2 separate regions of the Homo sapiens genome follow, and region 2 is linked to region 1. The links are contacts of gene promoters, found by promoter capture Hi-C in blood cells and fetal thymus (Javierre and others, 2016). All regions are on one chromosome and are shown on one strand. Each heading gives the region's core, a stretch centred on a gene start or on the middle of the fragment in contact. The rest is flanking DNA. Distances are from core to core; before and after follow the strand shown. Region 1 holds the start of SLC9A2 (solute carrier family 9 member A2). Region 2 overlaps IL1R2 (interleukin 1 receptor type 2).

Region 1 (6,434 bases), core at 3,098-5,597:
AGTCCCTTATTTTATGGAGGAAAACCAAAGCACTGAAAAACTTGGTGGTTGGATATCTGAAAGCTGACTCTTAGCTTAAATATATTAGGAGGATTCAACATTAAAAGTAGCACTGTTAGCTGGGTGTGGTGGTGTGCCTCTAGTCCCAACTACTTAGGAGGCTGAGAAGGAAGGATCACTTGAGTCCAGGAATTATTAGGAGTTTGAGGCCAGCCTGGGCAACACAGTGAGACTCCATCTCTACAAAACCAAACAACAACAAAAAAGTACCAAGATTATTTATAAGCTTGAATTTGCAGAAAGTACCTTTTCATAAAGCAAAACATTTCTCTGCTGAAACAAATATATTTGGCCAAAAAGAAAGAGAGGAAAGTATTAATTCTGTGGGCATCAGTAAAATGTTCACGCCACTGCATGACTGCTCTCTAAGAAGAAGTCCTTAGATTTTTGCTGAGAATTAAGTCTCTTAAAAAAAGAAAGTAGTTTAAACATTGAGAACTTTCAAATATAATAATAAAATAACCAAATCAACAGTATTATGAGAGTCAACTTTTTATAGGCAAAGATTCTCAATTGATATATTACACAACTAATGGCTAGTGGTTGTGCAATGCACATTTTAAAGAAAGGGGAATATAAAATATGAATATTATAAAAATGTGCAAAGAATAGTATGACATATTAATATCTAACTATTATTAGTAACTATTGCGACTATTACACTGGTATCTGAGGATGGAGCCGTTCCCTGGTCTCTGTCTCTTGATAGAGCATACATTGCTCCTGCATGCTAGCTTCTAAGGGAGGTGCTAACCTCTGGCGCCGCACTGTGGTGCAGAAGAGCTACTGCCACTAATGAGCAGTTCCCTTCCTCTGTGTCAGCTTCCACTCTGCATCTGAAAAAGACAGATAGCACATTAAACCTTTTGGAGTTGTGAAGAATATGTTTGCTGGCATGCAGAGACCTCTACCTGCTCCTTCATACAGAAGTTCCTGAGGTTTCAACATTCTACAACTCTTCAGTAAGCTCTAAGTTCTGTATGGCAAGAGACACAAAGTTAAACCTCAGTTCCTCCTGAAGTTTCCAGTGCAGGAGCGGGGGATTTAAGATCAGTCCTGGGTTAGGTCAGGATCCTAATCTCCTCTGCACAGCTCACAGTTTTATATTTTAAGGTGCATGTCCTCTTAAGCTAACTCAGCTTTATCTTACTAGTTTCTTTCCCTTGTACCAGGAAGTATTCCAAAATCCTTTGTGATTCCTAGTGATGCCAGATCTACTCTCTTGCTTGATGGCTGTATAATTCAGGAGAGTTACTCCTATTAAAGTATTCCATTAAATACAGTAATATTCTAATGGACCACTCTTGAGCAAAGTGCAGAGAAAAGTACGCATTTGCCTTAGAAGGTTCATAAATTCCTAGTAAATATTTCTATGCTATGTGAAAGTCAATCTGAAATCAGGTAACTATAATTTCTAAAAATATTTAGAAATCTTGTAATGTGATTAAATTCACACATCATTTGGGTAGAAGGGGGAAAAAAGACATGAGAGATGCCAAAATGTGAATGAGGGATCACTGGAGAAAACATTTCATGTAAAACTAGGAGAATTCATGTCCATCCTGCAACTGGCCTAACTGTGAGAAAGCCCTGCAGCTCAGATCCGTAGTGTGTGAGAGTTGTTGATTTCACCGTCAATTCATACATTTATTCGTCCAACACATATTTAGCGGGTACTCACTGTCTCCGGGCAATATGCTAGGAGCTAAAGATAAAAGAATGAGTTAAACAGACCAATACCTTCACAGAGATGTTCAGTGGGAGAAAAGCAAAATGATTAAGTGCTGAAAAGTTATGGGAGATCAAAGGGCATAAAAGAAGACCCCCCAATTAGTCCAGAAATTCAGCTACCAGGTGAGACGTCCAAAGGTCGCTAAGAAACCACTAAAGGATTTTAAATGTGTACACACGTTTCGCTTCTTGCTTCAGTCATCCCATGGGTGGTGTTATCACTTTCACGGCTGAGCTCCTAGTCAGAGGGCACTTTGAAGAAATAGCCAGGCCAAGTCGCTCTCAGCATAGGGGCATAATTTAACTCTTTTTAAATTTGCTTTAAGGGAAAGATGAAAAGAATGTCTTTTTAGACTAATTTCTTCGCCTCCCATTTACAAGAATAAATAAAACGACTTTTTTTTCAAATGTAAAAAAAAGTGGATAGCCTTTAACTGCAGTAGCATAGATGTATAAAGTTGAAGTGATACCACATAAGGTTTACAGGCAGTGAGGGCCCGGAAACAGATTTGTCATTCATTTTCTTGTTCATGATACACAATTATTCTTAAAAGTGTTGTGTGACAAACTCCTAGAAAGTATTGTCTAAATGTGCCCTCTCCCTATTACTATGTCACTAAGTTTGTAGAACTGCCTGATTCACTTACCAAAACTTTATCCTGCTGTAACTTTTTTGAACAATCCCTGTAATATTCTCCACTGCTTATTTTAAAGTAGCTGAGAATATAGCGTGCTGTTTATGGGCAACTAGTCATGGGGTAGAGGGTGAGATGATACCAGTGTTAGCCTGGGCAGGCCTGGGTGTGAATTCCATCCAGACACTTACTTAATATGTAAACTTGATTAAGTCTATTTGTTTATTTTTACACATTTCTACACTATATTTCTTCACTTATAAAATGGGTAAAAAATATCTGCCTCTTTGGATTTTTACGATTGACAAAAAAATGCAAGTAAAGTGCCTTGTATTGAGCTTCCCATGTAGAGACAGATACTCAAAAAATTTAAAAATCTCTTATTTGCTGCCTTTTCACAGGGGTATGTTAGGCACATACCTTTAATAAACGTTTCCAGTGAAAGGAGAAGGGGAGGCTGAGTTTTGGATGCCCAATGATTCTTCTCAAGATAATATCTTTAGTTTCAATTCTGTAGCGCTTTTGAAAAACTGATGCTTTGTGAAATATCAAATGAAGTAGTGCTCTGTAACATCTCCCAGAATTCTTCTCTCTTTTTAGCCTGGACTTGTCCCTCCATTACTTTGAAGACCCAAAGAGGACTGTTCCTTATTTTCTTCTATGCAGGTGGAGGATTTTTTTTTCTTGTACCCTCTGCTGACATCTCACTGATTTTCTATGTTAGAACTTTGAAAGAAAAAAAAAAAAAAAACGGCTTTGAAGGTCGAACTGCCTGGTGTTTGTTTAATAGTAGAAGCCACGTGTTTTGACACATCAAAGATTAAGAAAAGAGAAGGATTTTATTTCATAAATATCAAAGGGAAAACTTTCAGTTAATTGAATGGCAACTAGTCCCCTTTGTGCTCATTTCGGTTTCTGGCGATAAAGATGCTCAAACAGTGAGATCGCAACCAGTGAAGGAGGCGCTCTGAAGGACAGGAAAGGTTGGCTCTGCATGAGAAAGCCCTTTTAGATCCAGAAGAAGAATCACGCTTCCTTTCTTTTCCTGACCACAGCCTGTCCTGTAATTAGCGGAGCAAGTCAATCTGAGCGAGGCAAATCACTGGTTTTCCATGAAATAATTATATTTCTTATGCTCTTGGACATGTACACCTCTAAGCCTAAAAGCGGAGAAAGATGTTTTGGTTTTTTTTACGTGAGCTGGGGGAGGGAGAAGAAAAGTGGCAGCGACAGTGTAGCAAATGGGTGAAAGCAGCACAATGTGGCAAGAGGAGAGAACAGGATTCCGATTCCGTGGGGGCGTGGGAACACTGAGTTCCGCGCAGGGAGTTTCCCTGTTCAGAGCACCTTGTGCGCGAGTTGATAACTCTCGGAAAGGAAACAAAATTTGGCTTTCCTAAACTTTCTGTACGTCCAGAGAATCCCATGCCTTGTCTTGGCCTCCGCAGCGCCAGGCTGGGGTGACAGCACTCCTCCTCCACCGGCCCGGGCTTCTCCTCCGGACCGCGAGCCTGTGGCGCCTCCCCGCGCGCCCAGCGCACCGGGGTGTCCCCTTGGAGGAGCCTGCGGGGGCGGGGGAGGAGGGAAGGGCGCGACTCGTGGGTCGCGCTGGTTCCTTCACTGGATGGACGTCCGACGCTGCCTCCGGGGCGGAGACAGCTCCGGCCACCATGCGCCCGTTGCGGCGATTCCACCCACAGTTCGCTGGCTCTGGGGGTGGCGGGTCTTGGCGCGCGGTGCCTGCGCGAAGGGAGGGCAGCCATCGCCCCCGCGGTCACTGGGGCCCCGCGTTCCCCGCGGGCTCGGGCAGGTGCGCGGTGTGCCGGCCAGGTCCCCTTGTCCTCCTGCCCTGCGGCTTGGGCGCCGCGCCCGCCCCGCCCCCGCCCGCGGGCCGCCCTGGGCAGGGCCTGCCGCTGCGGCTGGAGAGCAGCGCACCGGCATGGGCAGGCGGCCGGCGGCGGAGGGCGGCTGAGGGCTGCTGAGGGTACGCGCAGCGGCCTCTCGTCGCCCTGCACGTGCCTCGCCAGGCAGTGCGCCTGCTCGCAGCGAGGACCTAGCCCTCTGGTTGCAGAGACCCGGTGCCGCAGCAGCGGCGGGTGGCTGTCGCTGCCCTGCCCTGCACGGGGCAGGGCGGAGCGGGCTGAGCAGCCCGGGCGCGATGCGTTGAGCGCTCGGAGGGCCAACCGCCGGTCCCCTTGGCGGCAACCGGCGGCACCCATGGAACCACTGGGCAACTGGAGGAGCCTGCGGGCGCCACTGCCTCCGATGCTGTTGCTGCTGCTCCTGCAGGTGGCGGGGCCCGTGGGCGCCCTGGCGGAGACCTTGCTGAACGCGCCGAGGGCCATGGGCACCAGTTCCAGCCCGCCTAGCCCTGCGAGCGTGGTGGCTCCCGGAACGACGCTGTTCGAGGAGAGCCGGCTGCCTGTGTTTACGCTGGATTACCCCCACGTGCAGATCCCCTTCGAGATCACCCTTTGGATCCTGCTGGCCTCCCTGGCCAAGATTGGTGAGCGAACTGGACTTGTGGGGAATGGGAGGGGGCGATCTCGGGGGGACACCTGGAGGGTGACCGGGTCAGCCAGCTGACCTCTAGATAGTGACCGCCTCATCTTGAATCAGGGCAGGGACGACAGATGGAGCAGCTTCTTCTGGTTGAAAAGGACCCTTGGAAGAGCAGTTTCGCGTTTTGGTTCTTAAGGGAACATTGGCCTTGAAATGGCCCCAAGTGTAAGTTCTACAAACTCAGCGATTGCTGCTTACTTCTGCCGCACGGAACGCCAAGTTTGTCAGCTCTCTGCTTAAGTTGAGTGAGATCTGTTTATTGAAGTGTACCAGTCTCACCTGCAGGGAGAGAGGTGCCGACGAACCCCGGAGCTATGCATAATGTGGTTAAAACCCTGGATGCTACAGGAGAGAGGCGCCTTGGCAGTGACACAGACCCTGCTGTGCGCCTGACTAATGAGGTGCATGGAAGGGGACCAGGGACACCTGAGTGCTTGCAGCTGCAATAGGAACGCCCTTTCTCCTCCCTCTATTGGGTTGAGGCTGTCACTCTCCAGGAAGCTTTTGCTTCGGGGTGGCTGAGGCCAGTGAGGTGAGATGCATATTTAAAAATAATTAACTCTGGGCCCAGGACAATGGCCCAGCCTGTAATCCCAGCACACTGGGAGGCCCAGACGTGAGGATCCCTTGAGGCCAGGAGTTCAAGATCATCATGGGCAACATAGCAAGACCAAACAGTACAAAAATAAAAAATTGGCCGGGCGAGGTGATTCACGCCTGTAATCCCAGCACTTTGGGAGGCTGAGGCAAGGTGGATCACGAGGATCACTGATCAACATGGTGAAACCTCGTCTCTACTAAAAATACAAAAAAATTAGCCGGGCGTGGTGGTGGGCGCCTGTAATCCCAGCTACTCGGGAGGCTGAGGGAGGGAATTGCTTGAACCCAGGAGGCGGAGGTTGCATTGAACCGAGATTGCCACTGCACTCCAGCCTGGGCAACAAAGCAAGACTCTGTCTCAAAAATTAATCAATCAATTAATTAATTAATTAGGTAGCCTGGTGTTGTGGTGCACATATGTATTCCCAGTTACTTGGAGGCTGAGGCGGGAGCCTGAGGGAGGAGGATCGCTTAAACTCAGGAGGTTGCGGTTGCAGTGAGCCATGAATGGCACCACTGCACTCCAGCCTGGGCCACAGAGAGATACCTTGTCTCAGGGAAAAAAAAAAAAAAAAAAAAATTACCCACTTTCATACTACCTTTAACTCTCATTTTGAAAGCAGAAACCTCAGAATATATTTTCTCATCTTCATTACCCACGCCCCAGAAACTTTCATGTTATGAGCATGGTGCTTTATATTATTTTTACTTTATATTTTAAAGACTTTAGAAAAATCCTGAAATATTAACTATTGTTATAATGATTCGATTAAGTTGTTAGGTCCAAAGAATGTATGCATTACATGTGTTTTACGTCTTTACCCTGTGAGATGAGGCAGATTTCCA
Region 2 (6,733 bases), core at 2,520-5,019, 610 kb before region 1:
GAATAAGATAAAGCAGGGTTCTGTCAACCAAAAAGTATCTGACAGTCTTAATAATTTAGAAGCTTATTTTGCCAAGATTAAGGACAATGCCCAGGAGAAAAAACATGGAATCACAGAAAAAGCAGTCTGTGGTCTGTGCCTTTCTCCAAAGATGATTTTGAGGGCTTCAATATGTAAAGTTTTTCCCCTATTGAAAAGCAGGCTGGAGGGCAGAGAGGGAGGGTGCAGTCATTACTGAATCCATGTGTTGCAAGGGAAAAGAAATAGGTAGGGAATAGTCAATTATATTCCTCTTATACTCAGTAAATCTGCTCTTCACATATGATAAGGTAAACATAGAGTGGCTACCTGTGGAGAATTTTTAAAATCTTTTATCTGTACGCTCTCTGCTTAGGAACAAAAGGAAAGGCAGCTTCTTGCAGGACTCAGACTTCAGCTTATTTTTTTCCTTTTGGCAGAGTGAATTGGGGGTCCCAAGTTTTTATTTTCCTTTCACAGTCCTTCCATCAGTGGAGCCTGAATTCTGGAGAGGGGAGACAAGGCTGATGATGAATGCCACAGAGAATGACAGGGAAGGGAAGGAAAACATGGAGTATTGGGATTAAAGGTGGTGCAATTTTAGATAGGGAGGTGAGGGAGACCTCACGAAGAAAGTGAAGTCCGAGCAGAAAGGGCACTGGCAGTGGCCTTAGCTGAGGAAGCAGCATCTCTGGCCAAGGCGCAGGAATGGCTAAGGGAGGTCTCTGCAGAGACAGCAGCTTATGGGGCAGAGCCCCTCTGCCAAGCACGCCTCTAGGTGCTACAAGGATTCGACTTTAGATATGTTCAGTGAATATAGCTGCAGAGAAACAAATCCAAAAATTTTGAGTTTTGTTCTTAAACAGAGTAGGCCAAAAGGTTCCCATTATCCAGTGAAGCTTCCAGACCCTGCCCCTACCCCGTCTTCAAGGGATTCTCTCTGCAGGGTTCTTGGTTCCTGGTGACACCTCTGTTTCCTCCCCTAGGCCACGTGCTGCTGGGTCTCAGTCCTCCACTTCCCGTGTCCTCTGGAAGTTGTCAGGAGCAATGTTGCGCTTGTACGTGTTGGTAATGGGAGTTTCTGCCTTCACCCTTCAGCCTGCGGCACACACAGGTTAGAAGTAAACCTTTCAGATGCAAAAAGGCTTGCCTGTAGCTTCGCTGGGGAAAGATGTTATCTAGAGAAGTTTCCTTGTCAGAAAGCAAAGTGTGGGCCGAGCTCGGTGGCTGCCGGCTGTAATGTTAGTACTTGAGAGCCCTAGGCGGGTGGATTGCTTGAGCCCAGGAGTTTGAGACCAGTTTGGGCAACATAGAGAGACCCACGTCTCTACAAAAAAAAAAAAAAAAAAAGTAGTTGGGCGTGGTGGTGCGTGCCTGTAGACCTGGCTACTTGGGAGGCTGAGGTGAGAGGAGTGCTTGAACCCAGGGAGGTTGAGGCTGCAGTGAGTGGAGATTGCATCACTCCACTCCAGCAGGGCAACAGAGTGAGACCCTGTCTCAAAAAAATAAAAAAGGAAAAATTAAAAAAAAGAAAAAAGAAAAGAAAAGGAAAGAATGGTGCGAATGTGCTTGTCAAAGAGCAAACTGAAGAAGTGACGTGTTTGCCCTTAACAAAGTTGCCTTTGGAGTTTAACCATACGACGTGCCAGAACTAAACTTTTACCATCTAAACTCAGCTCAGATTTACTTTTAATGATGAGAAATCAGCCAGTGAAAACTATGGCCATAGTTTTTAATCTTTAATTTTTTGTCACCGTAGAAACCTGATTTAACTTTCTTCACAAAACATAAGTTGGAATGGATAGTAGCACTGAACTTGTTATTTGGAAATTTTGAAAGTATAATAACGGGGTAGGGAGGGAGTTTAATAGTACCCCAGGGTGTAGGTCTTTTTGTTAGGGACAAATGACATCTTTCTCAAATGTGCTCCAGGTTTCCCTGCCAGAATCAGGATCAGTCCCAGGTGCAGGGAGGTTTTATGATCTGAGCAAGTTTTGGACCCAAAGCCTGACCATGGGCTCTCTGTCCTTCAGGGGCTGCCAGAAGCTGCCGGTTTCGTGGGAGGCATTACAAGCGGGAGTTCAGGCTGGAAGGGGAGCCTGTAGCCCTGAGGTGCCCCCAGGTGCCCTACTGGTTGTGGGCCTCTGTCAGCCCCCGCATCAACCTGACATGGCATAAAAATGACTCTGCTAGGACGGTCCCAGGAGAAGAAGAGACACGGATGTGGGCCCAGGACGGTGCTCTGTGGCTTCTGCCAGCCTTGCAGGAGGACTCTGGCACCTACGTCTGCACTACTAGGTAAGTCTCCCTGTGCGGGGCTGGGGAGGGGATCCTGGCAGGATGGAGGCTTGTGAGGGTCTTCAGTCATGATCCGGATCTCAGAATCCAGTGTACAAAATACAAATCCAGTGAATCCACATTGCATCCCGTTTGCTGTTCCTGACACCCCCCCCAACCCTACAGTCTCATTCTGTCTCCATTTAGTCTTTGCTCAAATGCCACCTCTTTGGAGACAACGTCCCTAGCCATTTTAGCTGACACCGCCCTCTGTCACTCTCTCCTTACCCTGCTGTAGTTTCCTTGCGATAAGATTTTCCCATCTGACACATTTGTGTGCGCTACTGTATTTAATGTTTGTCTACCCATTAGAATGTAAACTCTGCAAGGGCAGGGACTTGGTCTATGTTGTTCACTGTTGAAGCCACATGGTAAGGAACCAAGAAATAGACATAGAATAGGATTTTACTCTGAATAGGATTTTAGAGCTGGGTGAGACCTTAGGATTAAATTAGTCCAACACTTTGGGCGGCCGAAGAGGGTGGATCACGAGGTCAGGAGATCACGACCATCCTGGCTAACACAGTGAAACCCCGTCTCTACTAAAAAAATACAAAAAAATTAGCTGGGCATGGTGGCGGGCGCCTGTAGTCCCAGCTACTCAGGAGGCTGAGGCAGGAGAATGGCGTGAACCCAGGAGATGGAGCTTGCAGTGAGCGGAGATCGAGCCACTGCGCTCCAGGCTGGGCGACTGAGCGAGACTCTGTCTAAAAAAAAAAAAAAAAAAAATTAGTCCAACTGCTCGTTGTAAGGATGAGGGAACCAAGCTGGCTTGGAAAGTTCCCCAGGTGGTGCGTGGTAGAGCTGACTCTGGAGCCCGAGTCTCCTGACCCTGGGTCCAGTCCTCCTCCCTCTTTGTCCTGTTGCTTTCTTCCCCTTTAACTGTAGAAAAAATACACATAACAAAAAATTTATCATCTTAAACAGTTTTTAGTGTACAGATCAGTGGCACCATCACCATTATCCATCTTTAGGAGTTTTTCATCCTCACAAACTGAAACTCTGAACCCATTAAACAATAACTCCCCTCTCTTCTTCCCTCCAGCCTCAGGCAACCACCACTGTACTTTCCGACTCTATGATTTTGACGACTCTAGGTACCTCGTTTAAATCGTTTAAGTGAAATCAGTCTTTCTGTGACTGAATTATTTCACTTAGCATAGTGTTTTCAAGGTTCGTTCATGTTGTAGCATGAGTCAGAGTTTCCTTCCTTTATGAGGTGGAATATTATTATTCCGTTTTATGTATGTACCACATTTTGTTTATCTATTTATCCATCCAGGGACACTTGACTTGCTTCCTCCTTTCAGCTATTGTGAATCCAATATGAACATGGATGTGAAGATATCTGTTCAAATCTCTGCTTTCAGTTCTTCTGGGTATAGACCCCAAAGAGGAACTGCTGGATCATCTGTTAATTCTATATTTAATTTTGAGGAACTATCATACTGTTTTCCATAGTGGCTGTACCATTTTTCATTCCCAACAACAGTGCCGACACTCAATTTCTCTACATACTCACCAACACATGTTATTTTCTATTATTTTTGATAATAATCATCCTAATGGGTGTGAAGGGGTCTCTCATTGTGGCTTTGATTTCCACGTTCCTAATGATTAGCGATGCTGAGCATCTTTTTGTGTGCTTATTAACCATCTGTGCATCTTCGCTGGAGACACAGACATATCTCCTTTATGGACTCTAAGTCCTTTGCCCATTTTAAAAACTGCATTTTGCTGTTGTTGTTGAGTTGTAGGAGTTCTTTACATTTCCTGGTTATTAACCCCTTGCCTTATCAGATATATAGTTAGAAATATTTTCTCCTGTTCTCTAAGTTGCATATTCATTCTGTTCATAGTGTCATTTGTTACACAAAAGGTTTTAATTTTGATCAAGTCCAGTTTATCTATTTTTTTCTTTTGTTGCCTGTGCTTTTAGTGTTAAGAAATCATTGCCCAATCCAATGTCATGAAGGTTTTCCCCTTTGTTTTCTTCTAAGAATTTTATAGTTTTAGCTCTTTTGCTTTTTGATCCATTTTGAGTTAATTTTTGTATATGGTGTTAGGTAAGGGTCCTGCTTCATTCTTTTGCATGTGGATATCCATTTTCTCCAGTACTATTTGCTGAAAAGACTGTCCTTTCCCCATTGAATGGTCTTGACATGTCCTACTCCTTCTTGATGGATGAAGTTTTAGGCCTAGTGTTGGTGATCTTAAAAAGTTTCTTGGCTTCGTTCTTCTGAACTAGGACAACCCTCAGCTTGATTGGGAACTAGTGTTTTGGCCTCTCTCTTCAGCTGCTTCATCTGTTCCTCCAATAAAAACTTCCTTGGCTTTGTTCTTCTGAACTAAGACAACCTTTGGCTTGATTGGGAACTAGTGTTTTGGCCTCTCTCTTCAGCTGCTTCTTCTGTTCCTCCAAAGGCACTGCTTGCTCCTTCCACCAGCTGGCTTCAGAGTCTCCAGATTTCATAAACTCATTTGACTTAAGAAGGACTGTACCCAGGAATATGTACATTTAGAAAAAGAACCGGAGAAGTGAGATTCTTAGCACAGTGGAAGTACTGGTGAATGGAAAAATTTCAGACCACGTCATCCCCAGTCCTAGGCTGGGTGTGTGTGTGGCAGGGTATGTGGGGGGTGGGAGGAGATATGAGGTAGAGGGTGCCCTCTGTGTGTGTGTGTGTGTGTGCATGTGCGTGCATGTGTGAAATTAAGAATCTTTTCAAATTAAACCCAGCTTGACACTACCATCCATATGTCTAGCCCCAACTATAAGCAATTTAGGGACAGGTTTAATCCTGTCAATGAACCTTGCCTAAGAAGCAGGCAAACCATCTTCTATTCTTATGCTAGGAAAATGTGGATGCCTGGTTTTACAATAGCTATAAATGCATATTTCTTCTTTCTTTTCCACAGTAAAAATTCTAATTTTCTCTAAGGAGTACTACTAGGAAAACTTCATAGCATAGTAAGAAAACATGAAACCTGAAGTCAGAAAGAAAGATGGGAATCTTAGCTCTCTCATTTCCTATCTGGTGGGACCTTGGGCTTATCACTTGACTTTTATGGGTGTTAGTTTTCCTGTAAAGAAGTTTGTTGAGAGGGTTATGTGAGATCACAGAATGTGAAGGAACTAGCGTGGGGTCTGCCATGGTAGGTGGTCAATATATACATAAAAATTCCCTCTCCTTCCCAAAAGGCAATCCTCATGACTACTGAAAGTGAGACTGTGCAAAAATCAGGGAGATGTGAGCTGAGTTCTGTTTGTCTTAAAGTTTGCTTTTATGATCAATTTTTGTAGGAAAAAAAAAGCTGAGATTGAGGGGGCAGTGGAAATCCCAGTGTATGTCAAACTTTCTTTGCATGATGGGAAGGTTTACCTGGCTGACCTTTAATACTCTTTGTCAACTGTAAGATTGGGATTCTAATTGAGTGAGAATCACCAGCAGTTGCCATAATACTCTTTAGCGTTGATAGTCATGAGGCAAGAGACTGCCCTGTTCTCATGATTGTTTAAGACCTTGTGATCTAGAACCACGTGGTGAGTCAGAGTAGGCAAGGATGCAAGCCATCAGAGAGGCCAAGATTTGAGCAGTAGCTGCCTGGGCCTCCTTGCTTGGTGCTCTGCAAATAAATGCCTTACTTTCTATCACTGCAAAAAAAAAAAAAAAAAAAAAAAAAAAAGGAAAGAAAGAAAAGAAAAGAAGGAAAAGAAAAAGAAAAAAAAAAAAAAAGAGAAAGAGTAGGCAGTCAAGGTTATGCTGCTGTAACAAATAGCTCCTAAATCTCAGTGGCTTAAAATAACAAGGGCTTATTTCTTACACATGCAACAGGTCCATTGTGGGTTTGCAGACAGTTAGGGACTTAGGCTGAAGGAGCAGTCACAGTCACTATTTCAAATGTTATTGGTTGGTTGCTAGAGCAGGAAGCCTGCTTTGGAGGGTCTCTCATGGCTGTTACAACTTTCATGTAGAAGGGCCACACATATAACTCATGAGCTAGGAAGAGTCCCCACAGTGGGGACGAGGACATGTGATACACCATGTGCTCAGAATAGGGAGAACTGGGCCTATTTGGTGAGCAGCACTACGAATGACTATCACGCCTTTGCCATGGGGGTGCCACACTACATGGGGAGTGCAAGTGGTGATCAAATTGCCCCTCACCCTTCTCTTTCTTTTGAGTTATTTTTATGAAGTTTCTTGCTCAAGGGGAATTACCAGATCAATAATGTGAACAGCCTTGTAACTTTCAATATGTCTACTAAGCTTGGTTTCTGAAGATAGTACTTATGGGTACTGAAGATAGATTTATGGGTTTTCCCAGAGCCTTGCTGGGCTTCCCATTTTGGTTTGACCTCTTTGTAGCTGTACAG

Evidence for each region. Contacts are between HindIII fragments. The CHiCAGO score rates a contact against its expected background, and 5 or more counts as called.
Region 2: a contact is called between a fragment that was not itself captured here and the fragment with the promoter of SLC9A2 in region 1, in 1 of 17 cell types (total CD8 T cells). The highest score is 5.6, in total CD8 T cells.

The regions. Positions count from the first base shown.
Region 1 is chr2:102,615,206-102,621,639 of GRCh38, forward strand. It overlaps SLC9A2 (solute carrier family 9 member A2), which reads left to right and starts at 4,348. Exons shown (of 12, transcript NM_003048.6): 1 at 4,348-4,932. The coding sequence starts at 4,644. RefSeq lists a silencer at 3,956-4,065. The HindIII fragment of the contact is 5,203 bases long and covers 285-5,487 here.
Region 2 is chr2:102,007,511-102,014,243 of GRCh38, forward strand. IL1R2 (interleukin 1 receptor type 2) reads left to right here. Exons shown (of 9, transcript NM_004633.4): 2 at 1,005-1,132; 3 at 2,052-2,316. The coding sequence starts at 1,066. Among named protein-coding and RNA genes, the nearest start is that of IL1R2, 19 kb to the left of the region's middle. The HindIII fragment of the contact is 5,709 bases long and covers 916-6,624 here.